Regions from separate parts of the Homo sapiens genome. Here all the other regions are linked to region 2. The links are contacts of gene promoters, found by promoter capture Hi-C in human tissues and cell types (Jung and others, 2019). All regions are on one chromosome and are shown on one strand. Each heading gives the region's core, a stretch centred on a gene start or on the middle of the fragment in contact. The rest is flanking DNA. Distances are from core to core; before and after follow the strand shown. Region 1 holds the start of NOSIP (nitric oxide synthase interacting protein). Region 2 holds the start of FTL (ferritin light chain). Region 3 holds the start of IRF3 (interferon regulatory factor 3).

The links. The method cuts DNA at HindIII sites, captures the fragments that hold promoters and counts their contacts. A contact is called where the count stands out against the background at its distance.
Region 1: a contact is called between the fragment with the promoter of NOSIP here and the fragment with the promoter of FTL in region 2, in 1 of the 25 tissues and cell types used here (thymus).
Region 3: a contact is called between the fragment with the promoter of IRF3 here and the fragment with the promoter of FTL in region 2, in 4 of the 25 tissues and cell types used here (dorsolateral prefrontal cortex, hippocampus, pancreas and 1 more).

What each region holds. Positions count from the first base shown.
Region 1 is chr19:49,578,735-49,581,931 of GRCh38, reverse strand. It overlaps NOSIP (nitric oxide synthase interacting protein), which reads left to right and starts at 1,376. Exons shown (of 9, transcript NM_001270960.2): 1 at 1,376-1,417. PRRG2 (proline rich and Gla domain 2) reads right to left here and starts at 616. Exons shown (of 7, transcript NM_000951.3): 1 at 451-616. The HindIII fragment of the contact is 33,716 bases long and covers 1-3,197 here.
Region 2 is chr19:48,963,726-48,966,994 of GRCh38, reverse strand. FTL (ferritin light chain) reads right to left here and starts at 1,686. Exons shown (of 4, transcript NM_000146.4): 1 at 1,386-1,686; 2 at 1,079-1,225; 3 at 589-714; 4 at 116-412. The coding sequence starts at 1,487. The coding sequence ends at 260. RefSeq lists enhancers at 1,397-1,446, 2,996-3,105, a silencer at 1,697-1,856 and a cis regulatory region at 2,787-3,269. The HindIII fragment of the contact is 5,012 bases long and covers 1-3,269 here.
Region 3 is chr19:49,664,388-49,667,685 of GRCh38, reverse strand. IRF3 (interferon regulatory factor 3) reads left to right here and starts at 1,829. Exons shown (of 8, transcript NM_001571.6): 1 at 1,829-2,055; 2 at 2,840-3,012. The coding sequence starts at 2,848. It overlaps BCL2L12 (BCL2 like 12), which reads right to left and starts at 1,753. Exons shown (of 7, transcript NM_138639.2): 1 at 1,619-1,753; 2 at 887-1,001; 3 at 525-667. The coding sequence starts at 993. RefSeq lists silencers at 1,581-1,660, 1,701-1,850. The HindIII fragment of the contact is 43,433 bases long and covers 1-3,298 here.

The DNA.
Region 1 (3,197 bases), core at 127-2,626, 620 kb before region 2:
AGAGAACAGGAAACTGAGGCACAGAGAGGTAATATAGCTTGCCGAAGGTCACACAGTGTGCAAGTGTGAGAGCCAGGATTTCAGTGAAGGCAGTGTCCGCCAGAGAAGAAAGCAAGGAGCAGGCAGCTTATCTTTCTTTCCCCACTGTGTCTACAGCACCTGACACAGATGCTTATAAACATGTCCACTGGTGATCTGGAGTCTTCCCTTCCTGGTAATTTCCACTTGTGCCTCTTTCTGTGCTCATTGTCACATCCACCCACAGACAACAAAGATTACGAGAGAGGCAGAGGCAGGGGATTAGTTATATTATTGGGTCTAGGGACCTAAGTGGGCAGGGGCCCTGGACTCCTGGGCCTAGGAGCCCCAAACTTCTGGGTCTCGGAGGGGCGGGGAGCCAGGATGCCTGGGTCCCCAAGCCAGGCTCTTCCTCCAGGGACATTCACTTACCTGCCCAGAAATGTGAGCACTGCCCCTTCCTCTTTAATCGAGAACTCCTTGGCCAGCTACAGCCAGCTGTGAAAGGGGACAGGGAAGAGGGGAGGGGATAAGGAGGAGGGGCGCCCCACTCCCGGTAACCAGGCCTGATCCCCGTTTCTGGCAGGTGGGCGGAACTTGCCATTACCTGCCCTGGGCGGGACTCAGGTAAGGGACAAAGTATTTAAAGGGACCTTGGGATAAAGGACTTAAAGGCCAGAGCTCCATGAGGAAGCCAAGGTGTCGAATACCATGGGATACCTGGGGGATTAGATTCGACCCTCCTCCTCCCTCCCGACCCCTACCCGCTCTGGCTCTCCCCTGGGAGTTCGTCTGTCCGAGCTAGAAAAATTAATATCTAGGTCTCTAGGTATCTAGAAACTAGCGGGAACGATATGCCTTAGTCCCTGGGACAGCTGGGCAGTGCCGCAGTAAATCCCTGTTTCCTGAGAGCGACTTGAACGGCTTTGATTTTCAATTTCCCAATGGCTCTGTCTGTAAAATGGGAGCGTAGTTGTCTCTTCTCAATTGTTTTAAGATGCAGCAAGAAAAGTGGATGATATATTTGGGAAAGTGGGCTTCCCGATCTCTAGGGGAAGTGATTAGTCCTTAAATTTGGGCTTGGAGAGACTCAAAACCTGGGAACCAAGCAGGAAAAAACGATCTCCCTGGGAAATGCCTCGTACATAGTAAGCGTTCCCCATATTCCCACCAGTTTCAATATCCGGAACTTTCGATTAGCTACTCACGTTTCCGGAGAGAGAAAGAGAAGAGAGGACTTGAGCAAGCCAGGCGAGGCACTTCCGCAACTAGGGGCAGCTCTACTTCCGGTGCCTTCTGCTGGGCGGAAGTGGGCGGAGCGGAGGGGGAAAATAGTGCTCCTTTCCGGTGTCGGGGCACAGTTGAAGAAGCGACCGAGGGACTGGGAGTCGTTAGTGAGGTGAGTTCGAGGCGGTGCAGGAAGAGTGTTGCTGGGATCGCTTTCCTGCGGGCTAGAGGCCTGGGGTCTTGAGGGAGACTGGGGCAAGATTTTGGATTCCCGATTCCCTGTCAATCATTATTAATACAGCTGTCCGGGCGCCCCAAGTTTGAAGCTGAACTACACTCTGCTGGAGGTGGCCAACCGTCCATCGGGCAGTTCTCTCTCTCTTTGTCTCTCTCTCTCACTATAAACTCAGTCAAGTGGTAGCTAGCATCGGCCAGTTCTCCTGAGAGTTACAGTTCTGCTGTAGATGATGGCTATTTGCTGGTGGTCCCAAGGGAAGGAGTGGACTGGGATTGCTGGGGGTCTAAGGAGTGGGAGTTGAGGAGGGAGAACTCCTTTCCTGGCCTCAGTTTCTCAGACTGTGGTGGGACGGCGGGCGATACTAGATTGTGCAGTCATCCATCGCCACCTTCTCTTCACCTTTTTGACAGCCCCTTCCCTTTCGGGGTTGGTGCAGGGATTCACGTTTTCTTGTGTGGAGCTTCGGGGTCAGGCAGTCATGGATTCCCATTCTGATTGTGCTGCTAATTCTGTGAACTTGGGGCTTGAACGGTCCTTGAGGCAGTTTGATGTTAATGTTTTCTTACGAAAATGTTCAAACTTATATAAAAGTGAGAGAAGAATACAGGAATTCCTGTCACCCAAATCACCAATGATTATTTTTGCCATACTTGCTGTATTTTTTTAAACTTAAAGAGATTAAAACAAATCGTAGGCATCATGACACTTAAGGATTGTCAAAAGACAAAATTGCAACACATTTAGTGAGAAGATCTTAATTGGCATTTATTCGTGAATCTACAATCAAACAACATCTAATTATGGAAAATAGCGTGAGTGTTCCGATGAGCTGAGCAGAGGTTGTTTTCAGAGACAAAGGGCTGAGAAAATCAGAAACGGAAAACAAAAAGCTAGTTGATTAAATTGATTAACTTGATTAAATTTCTAAGTTAAAGGTTAAAGTAGAGGGGACTTCCTTTATCAGGTGGGCTAAAACTGGGTTGTTTGGGGATTTGGCTATTATCTCTCTCCTGATATCTCAGAAGATCAGATATCAACTTAGTTTTGGCTTGGAAGCATGGAACTTTAGCATGAGTGTCTCCATTTTGGTTTGGTCTGTTGAACCTAGTGCAGGAGCTCAATCCAAACCAATGACCTTCTATAAATTTTATCTAACAGGGTGCGTGTGTAAAAACCAGAAACATTGCTGATATGACCACAATACCATCATCACACTTTAAAAGAACAACCGTAATTCTAGACTACTATCCATTACGTGGTGCAGAGTCAAGTCCAGTGTAACTGTGGGTTTGTTGGAATCAGGATATAGTTAAGTAATTGCTATCGTCTTTTACATCTCTCTTAATTTAGAACTGTTCCCCCTTCCACTCCACTTTGGTTATTTCTTGGTGTAATCGATTCATTGAAGAAACTAATTCTAGTTCAGTTGATCATCCCACCATCTGAATTTGTCCCGTTTGCTTTTTTGTGGTCTCATTTTACCTGCTTCTGTTTTCTTTCTTTTTTTTTTTAAGTATTTAAAAATAGGCCAGACACAGTGGCTCATGCCTGTAATCCCAGCACTTTGGGAGGCCAAGGCGGGCGGATCATGAGATCAGGAGATCAAGACCATCCTGGCTAACACGGTGAAACCCCTTAGCCGGGCATGATGGCAGGCACCTGTAGTCCCAGCTACTCAGGAGGCTGAGGCAGGAGAATTGCGTGAACCCGGGAG
Region 2 (3,269 bases), core at 437-2,936:
GTTAAGAAAATGGGAGATGGGGCCAACTCCTCTTTCACTGGCATCCCAACCCAGCCAGAAGCTTTATGAGAACAGATCCCACCTCATCTTCCACACCACACACAAAACCACCAGCTGCATCAAAAAGCTTTATTTCCATTTGGTCCAAGGCTTGTTAGGATAGTTAAGAAAGCTGCCTATTGGCTGGAGGGAGAGGCTTAGGCAGAAGCCCTATTACTTTGCAAGGGGCCCTTCAGAAGTCGCTGGGCTCAGAAGGCTCTTAGTCGTGCTTGAGAGTGAGCCTTTCGAAGAGATACTCGCCCAGCCCAGCCTCCGGGCCACCCAGCCTGTGGAGGTTGGTCAGGTGGTCACCCATCTTCTTGATAAGCTTCACTTCCTCATCTAGGAAGTGAGTCTCCAGGAAGTCACAGAGCTGAGAGAGAAGAGGGAGAAATTAGAAACCCAATCCCTGGAAAAGAGGGGGAGAGAGCAGCCAGTTGCAGATTAAAATGTGACAGGTGTGAAATGAGGCTCTGAAGGAAATTTGCCCAAAGGGAGCAGAGGCTTGAGGGGTATGGTTGGGTAGCCATGGATGCAGCGGGTACGTACATGGGGGTCCGTGCGGGCAGAACCCAGGGCATGAAGATCCAAAAGGGCCTGGTTCAGCTTTTTCTCCAGGGCCATGGCAGCTTTCATGGCGTCTGGGGTTTTACCCCACTCATCTTCAGCTGGCTTCTATATAGAAGGGAGAAATGGCTCAGAATACACACACTCGGCACATAGAACTAAACCTACATTTCCCAAGAGTCGTTGGGGGTCAGAGGCCCAGGCCACAAAGACATGTGACAGCTTGTATTTATCACTCTCCGCACCCTGTCCTAGCTCTTACAGCTATACGTCCCTAAGACCACGCAGCGGTGTGGACTGCCGCGTGTTGTGGGCACTGCACGAGGTGCGCCTCTATTTCCAGCGGTTAAGAGGGCTCACAAGACCGAACTCAATCTCCCAGAAGCCCACGCGACACCTACGCCCTCAAATCAAGGCTCCTCGCGCGCACGGCCTGCTGGGAGATGTAGTCCATTACCCACACACTAGTTACCTTGATGTCCTGGAAGAGAGCGCGGCCGCCACGCTGGTTTTGCATCTTCAGGAGACGCTCGTAGCCCTCGCGCTTCTCCTCGGCCAATTCGCGGAAGAAGTGGCTCACGCCTTCCAGAGCCACATCATCGCGGTCGAAATAGAAGCCCTACGGGAAGAGATGGAGGCAACAATGGTTAGCGGGAGGCGAGGCCAAGGGGACTCCGCCCTCTGTTTACCCGACCGCACAAAGAAGGCTGGCGCGTGCAGTGAGGGCCGGAGGTGCGCAGCTGGAGGAAATTAGGGCCAGGGGCGTCCTGGGGACTCACCAGAGAGAGGTAGGTGTAGGAGGCCTGCAGGTACAAATTGACCAGGCTGTTGACGGCTGCCTCCACGTCGGTGGAATAATTCTGACGAATCTGGGAGCTCATGGTTGGTTGGCAAGAAGGAGCTAACCACAAAAACGGTGCTGGCAGGTCCCAGAAGCAGGAGATGGCCGAGAAGATGGTCCCGGAGGTTGCAAGCGGAGAGGAAATCGGAGGGCGGTCGGAGGCTGGAAGAGAGTCCCCGGATCTGTTCCGTCCAAACACTGTTGAAGCAAGAGACAGACCCGCGGGACCGCCGAACTGCGAGGGGACGTGGCTAGGGCGGCTTCTTTTATGGTGCGCCGGCCCTCGGAGGCAGGGCGCTCGGGGAGGGCTAGCGGCCAATCTGCGGTGGCAGGAGGCGGGGCCGAAGGCCGTGCCTGACCAATCCGGAGCACATAGGAGTCTCAGCCCCCCGCCCCAAAGCAAGGGGAAGTCACGCGCCTGTAGCGCCAGCGTGTTGTGAAATGGGGGCTTGGGGGGGTTGGGGCCCTGGGGCTGATTCTGGAAATGCAGGGGTTCGTGGGCGGGAGGGTGGGGGCTGGGGTCCCTCTGGGAGGCTAGAGTTTTATGGGAGCACTAACAGCCCTGTGAACTGATGACCCTGGGGTCCTGGGGTGCCTCGGGAAAGTAAGATTCTGGGGTTTCCGAGGGCATGGATTTTTCTGGAACCTTGAGTGGGGGGAGGGGCACCTCAAAGGTGCAGGGAGGACCTGTAGTTGCCTGAGGTTTGCGCTGCGAGATAAGGAGTCTCCGGATCCTTGGGAAGCTTGGAAGGCTGTGAGGTGTTATTTCTGGACCCCTGGAGATCTCTGGAAGATGGAGTGTTGCGGGGACTGGAGTCCTGGGATTTACAGGGGTGGGGGTTCACGATGCAAACTCTCTATATTTTGGAGCCCTCCCCGGGGAAATCTTTAGGTTCTTGAGGTGCTCTGCAAGTTGGAAAGGGCAGTTATTCTGGAGCCGTGGGTTTCACCCAGTGCGGGAAGCCCAGGAGGAGCATTGTATGAGGTAGGGTGACTTCTGGAACCCTGGACAGCCCTCTGGAACCCTCCAAAGATGGGCTGGGACTTTGGGGATACCTTGGAGCTCTTTCAGGGGCCCAGGCTTTTTCTGGGAGTGGAAATGGGGAGGAATGAAAAGTCTGTTTTGAGCTTTGCGGTGTCTCTGGGATTGCATTTCCTGGAGGCTGTTTTGGAGACAACTCACAGACTTCGAGAATTCTCCGTGGCCCTGAACAGTGTCTCTGAAGTTGCCCTCGTGTCTTGCCTGACGTGTGCTCCTTCAGGCCCACAAAGAGAAGCCCTGCGTTGTGGACAAACAGTCTGGGGACCTATGGACGAGACGTCTGTCTTCGACTAATGCATATTTTTTAAGTGGGCCTGGTCCACGTTGATTTCTGGGAGACGGAGTCGGCGCAAACCTTGACTCTACTTAAGTGCCCTGATGGAGGCAGCCCGTGCGCTGGGCAGGGAGCTGAAGCCACTGGGGTGTGGGGTGAGGTCAGGCCCTGCCCTACAGAGGAGCTGCTCCGAACAGCCCAGGCGGGGCAGCCCCTGACCGAGGGGATCTGCAGATGCCCCGCCAGGCCGGTATCTGGGGTCCTTGTTGCAGGCAGCGACTGCTGAGTCATGCTGAGCTCAGCGCGGGAAGGGGCCCCCGCGGGGACGGATGGGGGTGGGGCCACTCGCTGACCTCATCCCCTTGGCACTCCCCGACTTTTTTGGTGGGACCCTCAGAACTAGACCTGGCTCAGACCCAAATCGGGCCCCCTACCCCAAGGTCCCCCCTTGTTGGAAGCCGGCTGTGTGCTTTGTCTCCGTGTCTTTTTGGTTCCCATAATTTTTT
Region 3 (3,298 bases), core at 580-3,079, 700 kb before region 2:
TGATCACAGCACTTCCTCTCCCAAGCTGTGAACCCCTTTTCAAGCTAGCACTCCCAGCAGCCATTACTAGTCTGTCCAGGTTCACACCTATGAGGAAACTTGTGGGTCACCTTGATCAAGTCCAGTGACCTCCTCCCCAATTCCTACTCTGCTATTGGAAAAACAGGGGAGCAGGGAAGAGAAAGCATTTTCCCCAGAGTCACGCAACTAAAACAGCCAGGGAGATGTGATTGAAAACCAGCCCTTCTGCCCCTCTATCAGGGGTATTCCTGGCTACAAAAGTCCTAGGGGCAGGGAAGTAGTTATGGAAGGAAAGAGACAACAACCAGATTGACCAAATGCTCTCTGAAAGCCAACCCACAGAATTGACAGAAATCTAACTGGGGAGGGGAGAGGACAGGACGGTTCTGTCCTGAAGGCTGGTGCTAGAGACTCCACACAGCCACCCCCTAGCTGAGTGATCTTAAACTAGCACCTTATCCCGTGTTCTGCCGGCTTCATAGATGATCATGGAAATCTCTTACCAGGCTCTAAACCATAGCAGGGGCGGATGGGCAGAGAGCAAGGCCGAGGGGACTCAGAGGGGGCTGCTCCTCGCCCCAGGGAGCAGGGAAGACATCTTCGAAGGCGGCTCAGGAAGTCTGTTGGCTCTTCTTGGGCAGGGCTTCTGGAGAGGAGGACTTCAGAGACTGACCCCACCAGAGATCCCCTGCAAGCAGTCTCTTTCCCCAACTCCCTCCCTCCCCCGCTGAGGACCTCTCTCCAAAACCCCAAAGACAGAGAATAGAGCCAGATATAAAGAGAGGAGACAGACTGAGACCAGGAGCAAGAGTTAGGAGGGAGCCTCAAATGCTGGCCCCTGGGGGAGAAGGGCCACTCCTCTTACCTAGGTGGAGTTGGAACAGGAGACCCGGCAGCCTCACCACGCCTAAGGAAGGCAGCTAGGACCCTCAGCGTGTCTTCCCGGAGCCCCAGCTCTTCAGAGCCTGCCATGGAGGCACCTGTGAGAGAGAGGGTTAGGGACTGGACTCCAAGGGTTTAGCAAGAAGTGGAGGCTTGGGGACCAGGACTTGTGAGTCCCAAGGAAGGTGCTGAGGGCCTGGACTCCTGGGTCCTTTGGAGAGTGTGGGTCTGGGGGCCTAGACTCTTGAGTCCTCAGACGAAAAAGCGATCAGGAAAAAGACTCTTCGATCCAAGGAAAGGTGGTGGGGCTGGGTGCCCAGATTCGTGGGTCTAAAGGAGGAGGGAGCTGGGGTCCTGGACTTCTGAGTCTTAGAGAAAAAGGAACTGGAGCCCCAGACCCTTAGGTCTCCCAGGAAGAAGAGGCTTAGCGCCCCAACTCCTGGATTCTATAAGAGGCATATGCCAAACTCCTGAAACCCTTAAAGCATCGGGAACTACCAATCCCAAGAGGTTTCAGGGCAAATCTTCCCCTAGGTCCGCGCTTCTTCGCCGCGCAGCCTGCTGTGAGGTGTAGTTCCAAATCTCCGACCCCTGCTGGAATCTAGAGGACCCTGGACCCTTGGATATCAGAGAAGCGGGACTGGGGTGCCCACCACTGGATCCCGGCCCCCTCCTCTTCCCTCCTCACCCCACCCCTCGTCAACACCCCGCTGACCTGGTCCGGGGCCCCACCGCCGCCTCCTCCACTCAACTTGCGGTCTCCTCCACTGAACTCGTACAAACTTTATTAGTTCAACTTTCCCGCGCCTGCGCACTGGGCCGGGTCGATAACCGGCCCAGCGTAGAAAGGGCGGAACGCTGGGTGCACGCTCAATTTGCATGTGACGCTCCCAGCATGCCTCTGGCCGGAAACCCAAAAAAGGGCATAGGGGCGGGAACAGCCCAGCGGGCCGTCCCATCGGCTTTTGGGTCTGTTACCCAAAGAATGATAAAGTTGGTTTTATTTCAAGAAGTCGATCAAAAAGAAAGCCCCAGCGCTCTAGAGCTCAGCTGACGGGAAAGGGGGTGCGCAGCCTCGAGTTTGAGAGCTACCCGGAGCTCCAAGACAGGGGTGGGTTCCAGCTGCCCGCACGCCCCGACCTTCCATCGTAGGTAACGCGGAAGAGCCCGGGAGAGCGTTGGTGGCGTCCGAGAGCGAGGAGCGGGAAAGAGGATGGGTCTGCACGGAGAGTGGAAAGGCAGGCTGTGTACTCTGGGGAAAGTGGAGCAAGGAAGGAGCTACAGTGGCCGACGCTGGAGGTCGGCTGCAGAAAAACTAGAAAAAGTAGGGAGGAAAGAGGAAAAGAGGAGGCGTCTACACTGAGGGGGTTCTAGAGAGGGAGGGGTGGACTCCGTAGATGGGGGTAGTTCAGTCTCGAAACCTGGGGCGTGCTCTGTCCTGGAGGAGGGAGGCGGGCAGTCGGAGGGGAATTGAATGGAAGTTCTGTGTTGGAAATGTTTTGGGAGATCTTCTGTAGGGGGACTGTGGAAGGGGGTCTACATTGGGGTAAGTGCAGGAGGTAGAGGCTTACACGTGAATCGATTCTGCACTGAAATAACTAGGGAAAGAGGATGCTACCCTGAAAGTGGGGATACTTACTTTCGATGATGTGGGGGAGGGAGGAGGTCTATACTGGCGGAATTGAGGGAGTGGAGGGTCTGCACTGAAGACGCTGGGGAAGGATGTGCCATGGATATGGGAAGGAACCCTAGCTGATTAGAGAGCCTCTCGGGAGGATGGGAGGATGGGAAGAGGAGGTTTCCTGTTTGTACCCCCGAAAATATGGGTGAAGGACCTGTGCCGTGGCCCGTGAGAAGGAGGTCTGGGTGCGGAAACTCCAGGCCAGGTGGGTCCGGGGGAGGCCGGTCGCGCCCAGGAAATGCCCTATACGCGCAGGCCGGACCATGGGAACCCCAAAGCCACGGATCCTGCCCTGGCTGGTGTCGCAGCTGGACCTGGGGCAACTGGAGGGCGTGGCCTGGGTGAACAAGAGCCGCACGCGCTTCCGCATCCCTTGGAAGCACGGCCTACGGCAGGATGCACAGCAGGAGGATTTCGGAATCTTCCAGGTGCGTGCGACGACCTGGGACGCTGGAAACCCGGAGCTGCGCGCTGGGCGGAAAGGACTCCTAGTGGGCCCGGCTGAGAAGGCGGAGGTGGCGCGCGAGGGGCGGGCTCGTGCCAACGCTGGTGGGTGGGGCTAGAACGGGAGGGGCGGGGCTAGCCGGATCCGCTGACTGATGGTGGGGCGCAAGCAGGGTTGGAGCTGCAGGGTTACGGGAATAAAACCGGGAAAGCCGGTTAGTACGCAAAGGAAATGCATCCTGGGGGTTTGGGGCTTTCTAGAGGCCGGGG